3 separate regions of the Homo sapiens genome follow, and all the other regions are linked to region 3. Evidence: promoter capture Hi-C in 16 types of primary human blood cells and fetal thymus (Javierre and others, 2016). All regions are on one chromosome and are shown on one strand. Each heading gives the region's core, a stretch centred on a gene start or on the middle of the fragment in contact. The rest is flanking DNA. Distances are from core to core; before and after follow the strand shown.

The links. Contacts are between HindIII fragments. The CHiCAGO score rates a contact against its expected background, and 5 or more counts as called.
Region 1: a contact is called between a fragment that was not itself captured here and the fragment with the promoter of GLB1L2 in region 3, in 2 of 17 cell types (naive CD8 T cells and activated CD4 T cells). The highest score is 5.5, in naive CD8 T cells.
Region 2: a contact is called between a fragment that was not itself captured here and the fragment with the promoter of GLB1L2 in region 3, in 8 of 17 cell types (naive CD8 T cells, total CD8 T cells, naive CD4 T cells and 5 more). The highest score is 8.6, in naive CD8 T cells.

What each region holds. Positions count from the first base shown.
Region 1 is chr11:133,991,365-133,995,501 of GRCh38, forward strand. No RefSeq gene overlaps it. Among named protein-coding and RNA genes, the nearest start is that of LINC02730, 15 kb to the right of the region's middle. RefSeq lists an enhancer at 2,271-2,771. The HindIII fragment of the contact is 158 bases long and covers 1,708-1,865 here.
Region 2 is chr11:134,059,262-134,063,615 of GRCh38, forward strand. No RefSeq gene overlaps it. Among named protein-coding and RNA genes, the nearest start is that of JAM3, 7.6 kb to the right of the region's middle. The HindIII fragment of the contact is 526 bases long and covers 1,491-2,016 here.
Region 3 is chr11:134,329,114-134,333,237 of GRCh38, forward strand. GLB1L2 (galactosidase beta 1 like 2) reads left to right here and starts at 2,875. Exons shown (of 19, transcript NM_001370461.1): 1 at 2,875-3,034. The coding sequence starts at 2,949. RefSeq lists a silencer at 2,725-3,024. The HindIII fragment of the contact is 5,891 bases long and covers 1-4,124 here.

The DNA.
Region 1 (4,137 bases), core at 537-3,036, 340 kb before region 3:
TCAGGTGTGGCCGTCAGCATAGGAAGCAGCCATTGCACGTGGGAACGTTCCCCAAAGCCCCCACCCTCTCCAGACCACCTGCGATTTAGGCTTCCAGAATCCTACCTTGTCTCACGCGCAGACCCACTCAGGTTCAGAAGGATGGACCCACCCTGACCAGGACTTGGTCTTAAGGAGAGTGTTTCAAAAACTGCCTGACCTTCAACTTGATCCCAAATATCTCCTTGCTGACTCCGTGGGACTTCAGGTCGGTCAAGCCTCTGGGGCTTCTTGGCGAATCTCGAATTTGATGGTATATCTGGAAACCAGCTTCATGGGCTGTCTGCGGAGAGCAGTGGGCTTGAGCAAGACAACCAATGCTGTGGGAAGAGAATGCACTCGGAGAACGCACGGACTCATGGGGGCCAACACACACCGGGGCCTGTCGGAGGTCAATGGGGTCGGGGGAGGGAGCCTATCAGGAAGAACAGCCAATGCATGCTGGGCTTCATCCCTGGGTGATTCGATGGTCTCTGCTGCAAACCTCCATGGCACACCTTTACCTGCGTAACAAACCTGCGCATCCTGCACGTGTACCCCTGAACTTAAAATAAAAATTAGAAATTTGAAAAAAGAAAGAAAAGAAAATGCATTCAGAAATGGCAGTGAGCTGGCCCGGCTGGCACGCAGGTAGACACCCACTTGCTGAGACTCGAGATATCTGCTCCTGCCTTTGATTCTGGCACTGTCTCCAGAGCTTTGTGTTAAAAATGTAAATGTTATTATTCATATGCAACCTGGGAGGAGTAAAACATTAGTATTTCCGCACTGCCATTTTATCACCCTAGTAGATCAAATACCTGAGGAGAAAAAGCCGGAATAGGGTATCTAGGAAGAAGGAGGGGAAGGAAGTCCTGGAGACAAAGATTTTTGTTTCACAATTTTGCCTGAGGCCACACCTTCGTGATGCTCTCTGGAAGGGAACACCCCAGGCAGGAAAGGATCACCAGGTGTCAATCCCAGCTGGTATCACAGTCTGCCTCAGCCTTGCCCTAGGTCATTAGGAGTCAGAAGAACCACTGTCACCCTCTCCCCCGTTTAGAGATGTTAATCTGATCACTAACCTGTCTCTGCAAAGTGTGAACATTTGTTTTTCTTAGATCAGTTGATACAAGGTTGAAATTATTCAAAGGGAATTCTTAAAATATGAGACAGAAATGCAAAAAAACAGAAAATGCAGACAACTGTTTTCTCCTAACACAGTGCATCTCTTTCTGCGGGTGCAAATGGCCCTGCTGGCTGCTGGAATTTCCATGTCCTCAGAATCTAAGACTTCTGTTCAATAAAATTGTATCAAATCCCAGGGACATGGATGAAACTGGAAACCATCATTCTGAGCAAACTATCGCAAGGACAGAAAACCAAACACCGCATGTTCTCACTCATAGGTGGGAATTGAACAATGAAAACACTTGGACACAAGAAGGGGAACCTCACACACCGGGGCCTGTCGTGGGGTTGGGGGAGTGGGGAGGGATAGCATTAGGAGATATACCTAATGTAAATGATGAGTTAATGGGTGCAGCACCCCAACATGGCACATGTATACATATGTAACAAACCTGAACCTTGTGCACATGTACCCTAAAACTTAAAGTATAATAATAATAAAATTTAAAAAAATTGTGTCAAATCCATAGGTGTTTCATTTTTTCTTCAAGTTAAGCAAGCTTTATTATGTTATAACTTATTTGCACAGAAGCGATAGACTACAATAATATAAACTGCAGTGTAGATTGTAGTCAAACTTTCTAGTATCATGTATTTTCATTTGATCTACACATTTCAATCAAGCATATCTAATATATTTGCTGAAACCACTTGGAAGCTTGGACCAGGGGCTCACGTGAACCTCAGACTGAAGTCGTAGCTTCAGTGTGGTGTTGCCACTGTGCCTTCCTGGGGTGGGGCTCCGGGAGTGTGGGGGCAGAGCCAAACTTCTGCCTGCAGCCCAGGCTGCTGGAGCCGTGGCCTGGGTGGCACCTCCCAGCTGAGGCGGGGGCTACTCTCTCTGGCCCCCAGGCATTGCAGAGACAATCACCATGAACCACGAGGACGCTTCCTTTGTCCTTCTGGAAGGGTCTGTGGCTCTCAGCCTCCTCTCGCCCCAGCCTTCTCTGTCATAGTCCTCGCTCTGTCACTAACCAGCTGTGACCAAGGGCTTTGGGATCCATACTTGGGACTGGTCTCTCTACTTCAGTGCTTTGCAGTTTGACTTTCTGCAGTGATGGAGACATTCAATATGGCAGCCACTAGCCAAGCAGAGGGGGCTTCTCAGCACTTACAACATGGCCAATGTGCCTGAGGAACTGAGGTTCGAATTCTATTTCATCGTCATTAATTTAAATGTAAAAGGCCAGACATGGTGGCTCATGCCTGTAATCCCAGCACTTTGAGAGGCTGAGGCGGGTGAATCACCTGAGGTCACGAGTTCAAGACCAGCCTGGCCAACATAGTGAAAGCCCATCTCTACTAAAAATACAAAAAGGGGTGGTGTCATGTGCCTGTAATCCCAGCTACTTGGGAGGCTGAGGCAGGAGAATTGCTTGAACCCACGAGGTGGAGATTGCAGCCAAGATCACGCCACTACGCTCCAACCTGGGCTACAGAGCAAGACTCCGTCTCAAAAAAAAAAAAATGTAAAGAAACAGATATGCTAGTGGCTACCATTCCAGACAGTGCAGCCCTGGCGAGTGGCCACATGGGCACCGCCGTCACCAGAGGCCCCTGGCGCCTGTCAGGAACCTACGCGCCAGCCCTCCAGGCTGCAGGGACATGCACCTTGGAGCTTACATTTAAAGACCTACCCAGTCTAAGAGATGCTTTCTTTTCATCATATCTGCGCAGCAGATTTATACCTTTAACCTTTAATTATAGCGTCAGCCTACGGAATGATCTGTTTCTCTCCAGGTTGGATAATGGGCTCTGCCACCACTAGGAGATCTTTACTTCTCCCTTGTGGGTGCCAGAGGGGGGTGCCACTGAGGAGAAATACCTGAGTGGAGAGGAGGAAACGCAGCCATACTGTGCAGCACCTAAATGCCAAGGAAAGGAGTTCAGGCGTGATGCCTTCAGCAGTGAAAAATCCTTGAAGATTATAGAGCAGAGGGGTAGCAAAGGTAGCAGACAGTGAAGGAAAGCCTGCGAGGTTGAAAGTCTAGAAGCATTGGATTTGGTTCTCTTCACTAGCTATGAAGAAGTATCTTATTCATAGCTCACATTTCTGAGACTCAATTTAATCTTTGTCTGTAAAATGGGGATAGTACCCACCTGTATTAGTTAGGAGTCTGCAGACAGAGTCAATAAAATACAGATAGATAGATACAGATATATAGTTACATAGATAGATATAGATATAGAATATATATATATATATGTATAGAAAGAGAGAGCGAGAGAGAGAAACCAGGCTTTAAGGAATTGGCTTACACAATTATGGAGGCTGACAAGTCCAAAATTTGTAGAGTGGGCCAGCAGGCTAGAGACCCAGGGAAGAGCCCACGTCGTGGTTCAAGTCCAAAGGCTGGCAGAATTCCTTCTTTCTCAGGGGAGGTCAGCCTTTTACTGCATTTAGGCCTTCAGCTGATTGGCTGAAGCCCACCCATATTCCAGAGGACAATCTCCTTTACTCCAAGTCCATCAACTTAAACGTTAATCTCATCCAATACATCCTCACACAAACACCCAGAATATTGTTTGACCAAACAGCTGGGCACCCTGAGGCCCGGCCAAGTTGACACATAAAATTAACCATCTGAACACCCTGTAGTGAGGGCCACATTCATTCACATGTTTGAGAGAATGTATATGACCATGTTTTGAAACTGTCACGTGCTGTAAGAATACAAGACCAATAGCCACATGAAAACATGCTCCATTACTAATCATCAGGGAAATGCAAATCAAAACCACAAGGAGGAGACACCACTCGCACCTGTCAGAATGGCTGTTATCAAAGAGGAAAGATACGTGCTGGCAAGGATGCGGAGGAGAGGCAGCCCTTGCATACTGCTGGCGGGAATGTGAATTAGCGCAGTCATTATGGAAAACTGTACGGACATTCTCAAAAAATTAAAAATGAAACTACCATACGATCCA
Region 2 (4,354 bases), core at 504-3,003, 270 kb before region 3:
TCTCTATTTCAAGCTCCATGTGCATTTTAATTTTTCTGCCCTCTTATTCAGAATTTCTCTGTACAATGTGGTAGTATGGCAGACTCCATCATTCTGAGGTTTCCTGGATCCCCAAGAAAAAAAATATTGATTTTTCTTCCCATCTCTTCCATGGGAACATGGATTCTTTGAGGGGAAAAATAAAACAAAACAAAACAAAAACAAAAAAACAAAATGAAACAAAACTGTGTCCAAGCTCTCTCTGGTGCTGAGTTCCTAGCTCAGTCCGAGGCACAAACACAACATAAAGTTTGCTAGAAGAACAGTTAAATAGTGTTAGGTGATTATCAAGAGTTACTCCAAGTCTTTCCCCATCTTTAGGAAGAAAATTTTCTCAATTATTCTAAGCACGAAGATATTATTTTATTCCCAAAATGCTTCATAGGTGGTTCTGCAATGCACGCCCTTATGACACCTGTGTGAGTGTTTTTCTTAGCATTCTAACGTGTTTCTTGAACAACACTGTGTGGTACACCCCCCGGGATGCCTGAGATGAGGCCCTTCCTGAACTGGTGGTCCGATTGGAAGATATGATGTGGAAACCATAACTCTGACATGATATGTGTCATAGTAAGCCACGAGTATCTTGGCCAGTGGTGAGGGGTAAAAGAATTTACCAAGGTCGGACATGGTGGCTCACGCCTGTAATCTCAGCACTTTGGGAGGCCGAGGCGGGTGGATCACCCGAGGTTGGGAGTTCAAGACCAGCCTGGCCAACATGTCAAAACCCTGTCTCTACTAAAAATACAAAAATAGCTGGGTGTGGTGGTGCATGCCTGTAATCCCAGCTATTCAGGAGGCTGAGGCAGAAGAATTGCTTGAACCCGGGAGGTGGAGGTTGCAGTGAGCCAAGATCACGGCATTGCACTCTAGCCTGGGCAGCAAGAGCAAAACCCCATCTCGAAAAAAAAAAGAAAAGAAAAAAGAAAGTAGGAAAGTACATTGTACGTTGCCAGGGAGCAGTGGGCAAAACCAGCAGGAGAGAAGCTGACTGCGAAGAGACAAAGGCTGGCTGGGGATTTTTATAGGGTGGTTGTTGGGCGAATTGATAATGCCAAGGTAGCAGTGAGCTAACCTGCATTCTTCTATCAGCTGAGGTGTTTGACAAATTGAGGCATTTGATGACCAGCAGGAAGCCTGTGAGTTCTGCACCTTATCTGCTCAGGAGGGCTGCATGTCCTGGGCCATAAAGAAAGGCAGGCCTATAACTTATCTCCTTCCTCTTTTTGTCTATATGTTCCGGACCATGAGGGAAGGCAGGTCTATAGCTTATCTGCTTCCTCTATCTCTTTGCTTTCTCCTGGTGGTGCCAGCCTGACTCCTTTTCCCTAATTAGGACTCCACAATGTGATAGGGAGCATTGTGTTTGTCGTAGATTCATTCAAGAGGAACATGTTTGTTTGGAAGAAAATGTTATAGGACTATTTGGGAGAGGAACTAAGGCTTCAGGAAGCTTGGGAATGAAAGGAGATGCTCTGAGGCCAGAGTGGCATTTCGCGGGTTGAGCCTGAGGGATAAGGAGGAAGGAAGAGGGTGGAACCCTTGGGAAGAGGGAGGTCATGTGCTTCCTCACGTCGCCAGCGTGGTATCACTTTCCCAAACTGGCATGCTGCATGGTGAAGAATAAAAAGCACCTTGATAGAATTATACTGAGATGCTGAGAAATCCATAATCATAGAGTGATATTTAACAAACCTTTTCCAGGAATTGATAGCTGAAGCCAAAAAACAAAAAAAAAGTAAGCAAAGGTAGTAAAGTTTTAAGTAGCATAATAAAGAAATTGAACTGAATAGGTACATATTTAGAACTCTAAGCCCAAACATTTGAGAATACACACGGCACATTTAAAACAATTAACCATTAGTAAGCCATAATGTCAGGCTCAACAAATACAAAAGCATTGATTTTATATGGACCTTGTTCTCTGACCAAGGCAGTCATTGATGGTAACACAAGCCCAGGCTTCATATATTGAGAAGCTTATAAAGCAGACTTCTAAATGATAAGTGGTCAAGTAGAGATGACAAATGAAATTATAAAATACTTGGGACTTAGTGACAGTGAAGACAGTGTGTATTACAAATTGTGGGATGTAGCTACTGCAGTACTTAGAAAGGATTATAGCTTCAAACATACACATTAGCAAAGGAGGAGATTGAACACAGCATTAGACTCTAGAAGTCTGAACTAGAATCACAGTAAAAATATGGAATTACAATCCAATGCAATGGAGTGTGGGAGAGACGCACCCACAGTGTTACAGAAGCACACAGGAGGTCCACCCAAACCATCCTGGAGGGGACTCTGGGGCCAGGAAGTTCTACCATGAGGATATGATGCTGAAAGGGGTTCCAAGAGGACATGGTGATGTTAGGAAACTGACTAGTGTGAAAGGAAAATAAATCTTGGGACCCCAAAATCACTAAGCTGAAAAGTCAAGCTGGGAACTATCAGGCAAGCCTGCCTCCCGTTTTGTTCCTAAATAAATAGCTATAAAGATATTAAAGATACATACCTCCCTCACAATCTGCCCACAAGGAAATTCCTTGTGGGCCTCAAGGTCTTTACTCTAAAAATAGTTCTGTTGAATTTCACCTTGGCCATGTAAATTGATAGCTCATCTTCACAGGTACAGGATAGAAAGTCATCCCTGTGCTCACCTGAGACAAATGCATATCTGTTTGCTTCTTCTGCTCTATTGTTTATGTAAAAATGCAGATTCACTGAGCTGGACTAAGGCATACATGACTATTCCTCTACGCCTCTCTCACATGTAAGTTGTGATTTCAGTGAAAGGCTGATTAAAGACCCAAAATAATGCAGCCTTTTGTCTCTTATCTACCCATGACCTGGAATCCCCGAGTTGTCCTGCCTTTCTAGACCAAACCAATGGACATCTTACATGTATTGATTGATGTCTGCTGTCTCCCTAAAATGTCTAAAAGCAAGCTGTGCCTGACCACCTTGGGCACCTGTTCTCAGGATCTCTTGCGGGCTGCATCATGGGCCAATGGTAACTTATATTTGGCTCGGGATAAATCTCTTCAAATGTTTTACCGAGTTTGAGTCTTTTCAGCGACACCAGGCTGACGGGGAGGATAATACAGGCAGCAAGGACTGCGTTGGCAACTGCAGTGGCTCGCAAGAACCTGGCAAGTTTTAAGAACCACAGCTGACTCAGCGGAGCTAGATTCAAGGCAGTAGATGAGGGGGTGGTATGAGATGCGGAAGTTGTGATGCTCAGGAACATAGGGTGTGTTTTTTCATCCATGACTTCTTTAGTCGTACTAAGGCAGGGGTCCCCACTCCCCAGGCCGTGGACAGGTAGCTGTTACCAGCTGGGCCGCACAGCGGGAGGTGAGGGGTGGGAAGGAGAGCATGACTGCCTGAGCTCTGCCTCCTGCCAGGTCTGCATTAGTCTCATAGGAGCACAAACCCTTTTGCGAACTGCGCACATGAGGGATCTAAGTTGCACGCTCCTTATGAGCATCTAACTAAAAAGCCTGATGATCTGAGGTGAAACAGCTTCATCCGGAAACACTGCCCCACCCAACCCTTCCGTGGAAAGCTTGTCTTCCACAAAACTGGGCCCTGGTGCCGAAAACGTCGGGGCCTGCTGTACTAAGGGGTGTTAGCTACATGCTGAAGGTGCCAAGAATTTCAAGCAGCACGACGTGAGCAGATGTTAGCTCTGCAGGGCGCAGGAGTCTTATATTCATTCATTCCAGAGATACTTATTGAGCACCTCTTACTGTTCTAGGCCCTAGTCACAGTTTTGAAAAGAAACATCTAGATACAGGAAGACATACCTACAGATCATTTTAACAATCCAGATGAAAAATGAGGGAGCTGATATTGGGCCAGTGGTGGTGGGGGTGGCCACTCCTTCCCTGTGGGGAGTGCACAAGGAGAATCTTGTACCTCCAAGCTCAGCAGAGTTTCCTGTTTCCTTCCTGTGTTCTGTCTTGGGCAGCAGCTGGTGGTAGGCCTGGGGCACAGGGACAGTGCAAACCTAGGGAACAATGCCCGGCTGGAAAACAACATATTGCCTGGAAGATAAATGGACTAAGGTGTGACCTCTGAGTGTAAGGGTTGCAGAAGCATAGGTGCCCTTTGCAGATGTGGGATTCAAGCTCTCTGTCCTTCATGGGGTGTGTGGCCATCCGCACTGGAGTAGGTCTCCACTGAGTGTCTTGAGTGCTTTCAGGATTCTGAGAATCACCCAAGAGGACCAAATACGTCCACTCCTCCTGATCCAAAATTTCATGGGAATATAATTTCATGGCATTAAAGACAAAGTATAGAGTCTTTTTTC
Region 3 (4,124 bases), core at 1,625-4,124:
AAAATAAAAAGTGAAACAGCAAATGAGACTAGTTTGACATGATCGCTTTTCCCACGTGACTTCACTGTACTGATTTTGAGCGAGTGTGGTTTTTATTCTCCTGTGTGTGCATTTTGTATGTGTTTCGGTTTCCCGCTGATTATCTGTGATACAGGAATTTTCAAGGAAGGAACTGTGCCCTCTGGGTCTGTTGGAGCTCTGACTTAGAGCAATGGAAATGGCACACCAACAAGATTTAACTTTTTTAAAAAGCATTTCTTGTATTTTCTAAACCCTGGACACTAGAAAGAAGGCCTGGGAAGAGGATGATTCCTGTGTACCAGGGATTCATTACCAAGCCAAGCACCTTGGCAGACCACTTTTTTACCCCACTCTTATGCCAGCTCATTGTAACTGTAGCTTTTGTTCCCAGGGATTTGAGTATTTTCACTGTCTGCTTTGGGTTAAGATCACTAAACATTTTGGAAAGGAGACACTGAAGGAGTATCTTGCTAATTTTTTTTTTTTTTTTTTTTTGAGACGGAGTCTCGCTCTGTCGCCCAAGCTGGAGTGCAGTGGCACGATCTCGGCTCACTGCAAGCTCTGCCTCCTGGGTTCACGCCATTCTCCTGCCTCAGCCTCTTGAGTAGCTGGGACTACAGGCGCCCGCCACTACGCCCGGCTAATTTTTGTATTTTTAGTAGAGATGGGGTTTCACCGTGTTAGCCAGGATGGTCTCGATCTCCTGACCTCGTGATCTGCCCCCCTCGGCCTCCCAAAGTGCTGGGATTCAGGCTTGAGCCACCGCACCCGGCCTAATGTTTTAAAAAACAAAAGTCTCAGGCTGGAAATGGTGACTCACGCCTGTAATCCCAGCCCTTTGGGAGGCCGAGGCAGGTGGATCACCTGAGGTCAAGAGTTTGAGATCTGCCTGGGCAACATGGTGAAACCCCGTCTCTACTAAAAATACAAAAATTAGCCGGGGAAGGTGGTGGGTGCCTGCAGTCCCACCTATTCGGGAGACTGAGGCAGGAGAATAGCTTGCATCCCGGGAGGCATTGCAGTGAGCTGAGATTGCACCACTGCACTCCAGCCTGGGTAACAGAGTGAGACTCTGTCTCAAAAAAAAAAAAAAAAGTCTCAGCCTATGAGCAAGACGCATCTCGGGTTAGTGCTAACTTTGTAGCATTCTGTGGTATCATTAAGCCCAGATAAAGTAAAATTGTTCCTAGACTGTGAGCAGGGTGTGTCCCTAGTTCTGAACATCCCACAAGGTTAAGGGGAAATTTTTTTGAAAACACTCAGTTATGTATATTTTTCTCGCACAAATAAAAACGAAGGATACAAGGGTGGGCCAAGGAGTTCACGGTTTTCACAACCCATGTTAAGTTTTTGCTAACGTTTGAAGAAAAATGGAGATGCTTGTATTGCTTAAACCATTTGAGAATTCCCTTATATTTGATAGATTCTGCCACTGTTCAACGTGACCAGAAGTGAGAGGATGAATGTGGGGTGCATGTCTTTCGGATGGTCCCCTGCAGGCAAAGGGGCTAGCCTTTGACAATTTCTCCACACGCTTCGGGGCTAGCTGGTATATTCCAATTAAACCAACATGTTTCCATCACAGACTTCATAGCCATCAAGCAATCATAGCCTTACCCAATGGAGAAAAGGAGCGGGCTTGGAGCGCGTCCACGGGAGTGGGCCTCCCTCTGCGCGCCTCTGGGAATGTTTGCGGTGCTTAAGTCAGACCCGGATTGCTCCAAGCCCAGCTTATCCTCCCCAGTTCTGCCAGGGTTTTTTTCCTCTTGTTTGTTCGTTTGTTTTTGCCTCTCTTTGATTTAACTTTTGCTCCTTGACTAAATATGTGCTTAACGCTAGACAAAGGACACTTCATACCCAAGTCTGTGTCTTTGTTCCAAGATCTGCAATTTCATTTGGTTCCTGTCGGCTTTACAAGTTCAAAACTATGCCCCCGTTTAGGAAATGAATTCAAAGCATGCGGCAAGGGAGACATTCGACAAACCCGGATGCTCTGGAAAACGTTGCCCTTCCTCGAGTTTCTTTCAGTAAAATCTGAATTTTGTTCCCGGGAGGAGTTGGGTTTGTGATTGCTACAGTGTAAGTTGCACCGAAATACTACATCATGTTCTTTGGGACATACATTCTGTTTCAGAATAAGAATGATATTCTTCCTTTCCTAAAATGTGAGAGTTTTATATGGACCTTTTTAAAATAAAAAATTGGAAGCCCTTGGAGTCAAGGCCAGAGTAAGACTCGCAGAAACCAAAGACAGAAAATATTTGGAACCCCCCCTCCTCAGACATGAACCACACTGAAATGTGTCCAGATACAATTCTTCAAAATCCTGGCTTTTCACAGGATGATTTGTTATTGAAAAAGTTGTTTGCTTCAGAATCTGAATTGTTTTAAAAGATTCTGTTGGTTGCCCCTGCTTTGCGGACGCCTTTTGTACGTTCTTCCTGATGTAGCGCTGCGAGGGGCGACTTTACCTCGGCGTTTGACAGGTACGCAGCATTCCCGCACCCGCCTGCGCCTCGCGAGCAGAAAGACGGCGGACTCTGCACCGCTCCACGACACTGGGGACCCGCCCCGGCCAGACCCGTCCCCTACCGAGACCTTGTCCCCGCCCCGCCCCCGGCCGGGGCCCCGCCCCGCCAGCCCCGCCCCCGCCAGCCCCCTCTCCTACCGAGACCTCGTCCCCGCCCACCAGCCCCGCCCCGCCCCCCCCCCGACAGAGGCCCCGCCCCGGCCCCGGCCAGCCCCGCCCCCGCTTGCGCGAGGCCTAGGGCTGCAGGCGCGGAGCCGCGAGCCCCAGCCAATGAGCGCCGGCGGGCCGGTTGCCCAGGCGACCAGTGCGCGGCTCCGCCCCCCGCGGCGAGGCTCCCGCGCGCGGCTGAGTGCGGACTGGAGTGGGAACCCGGGTCCCCGCGCTTAGAGAACACGCGATGACCACGTGGAGCCTCCGGCGGAGGCCGGCCCGCACGCTGGGACTCCTGCTGCTGGTCGTCTTGGGCTTCCTGGTGCTCCGCAGGTGAGAGAGAGCTTCGCGCAGCACCTGCCGGACCCCACATTCCCCAGCCCTCCGCACCTCGGGTTCTCTCCTCCCGCGACCCGCGAATCCCGAGTTCCCGGGGGGAGCAGCCCCAGCTGCTTCTTTCTGGGAGCTCCCCAATACCCCCGAGTTCCCCTGCGGCTGCAGGCACTCTACTCCTGCCGCGCGATCCAGGCCTCTGGGCGACACCCGGCGTGCCCTCGGGAGCCGGCGTCTGTGCCCCGAGCCGCCCACCCCGCCGCGCCTGTGACGCCGGGCTCTGCCCCCCGTGGACGCCCGCAGCCCTCCAGCCGTCAGAGCCCTCTCAGACGCACCCCATCGCGGCCCCGTCCCCACTGCTCCGCGGAGAGCTCCCTCTGCCCTTCCCCCAGGCCCCCCTTTTCCTCCCAAGCCTCTGGGAGGCGCCTTATTCCGCAGAGGCCGGCGCTTCAGCCTGGCAGGTATGGTCTAGCCAGCTGGCCTGGCAGGGTCGTAAGAACAGTGTCCGTGGGCCTCCAAGATCCCGGGCCATGATTTATTTGCACAGTAGGACTGATAGGTCGTCTCTCTCCACTTTCCCACCATTCACCTGTTACCAGCTCACCCTTTCCTCTCCCCCTTTTCCAAATGTTGTTTATGGCAAAGGAGTGGCTTCAGTGATACTGTGATTTACCCACAGCCTGTGAAAAAGTTTTCTGGGTGCCCTAGCCCAGCATTTTTCTAAACTGTGCTTATTTTAAGGATTCTACAGCCCTGACCCTATCTTTCAGGTCAGCACTTTCCATATTCAAAACCTCCAGTGGGAAGCCGACCGGCAGTATCGAATGAACTGAACGGTTGGAAGTGGTGGCAGGCCCTACGCCGCTCGGCTTTGTCATTTGCTTCTTTTTTACTTAGAGAAACTAAGTTCTTAGTTTCTCTGCACTTCCCCTGGGAGACAGGGAAGTTTTTGATGGAGATAAATATCTGGAAGTCCTTTGTGGCCAGAAGAACACACTGACAAACTCTATGTTTACACCTTGTCAAGACTGGATTCTTGTTTCTGAGATAGTGGGGACGTCATGATATTGTTTGGGAGAAGGACGGATTT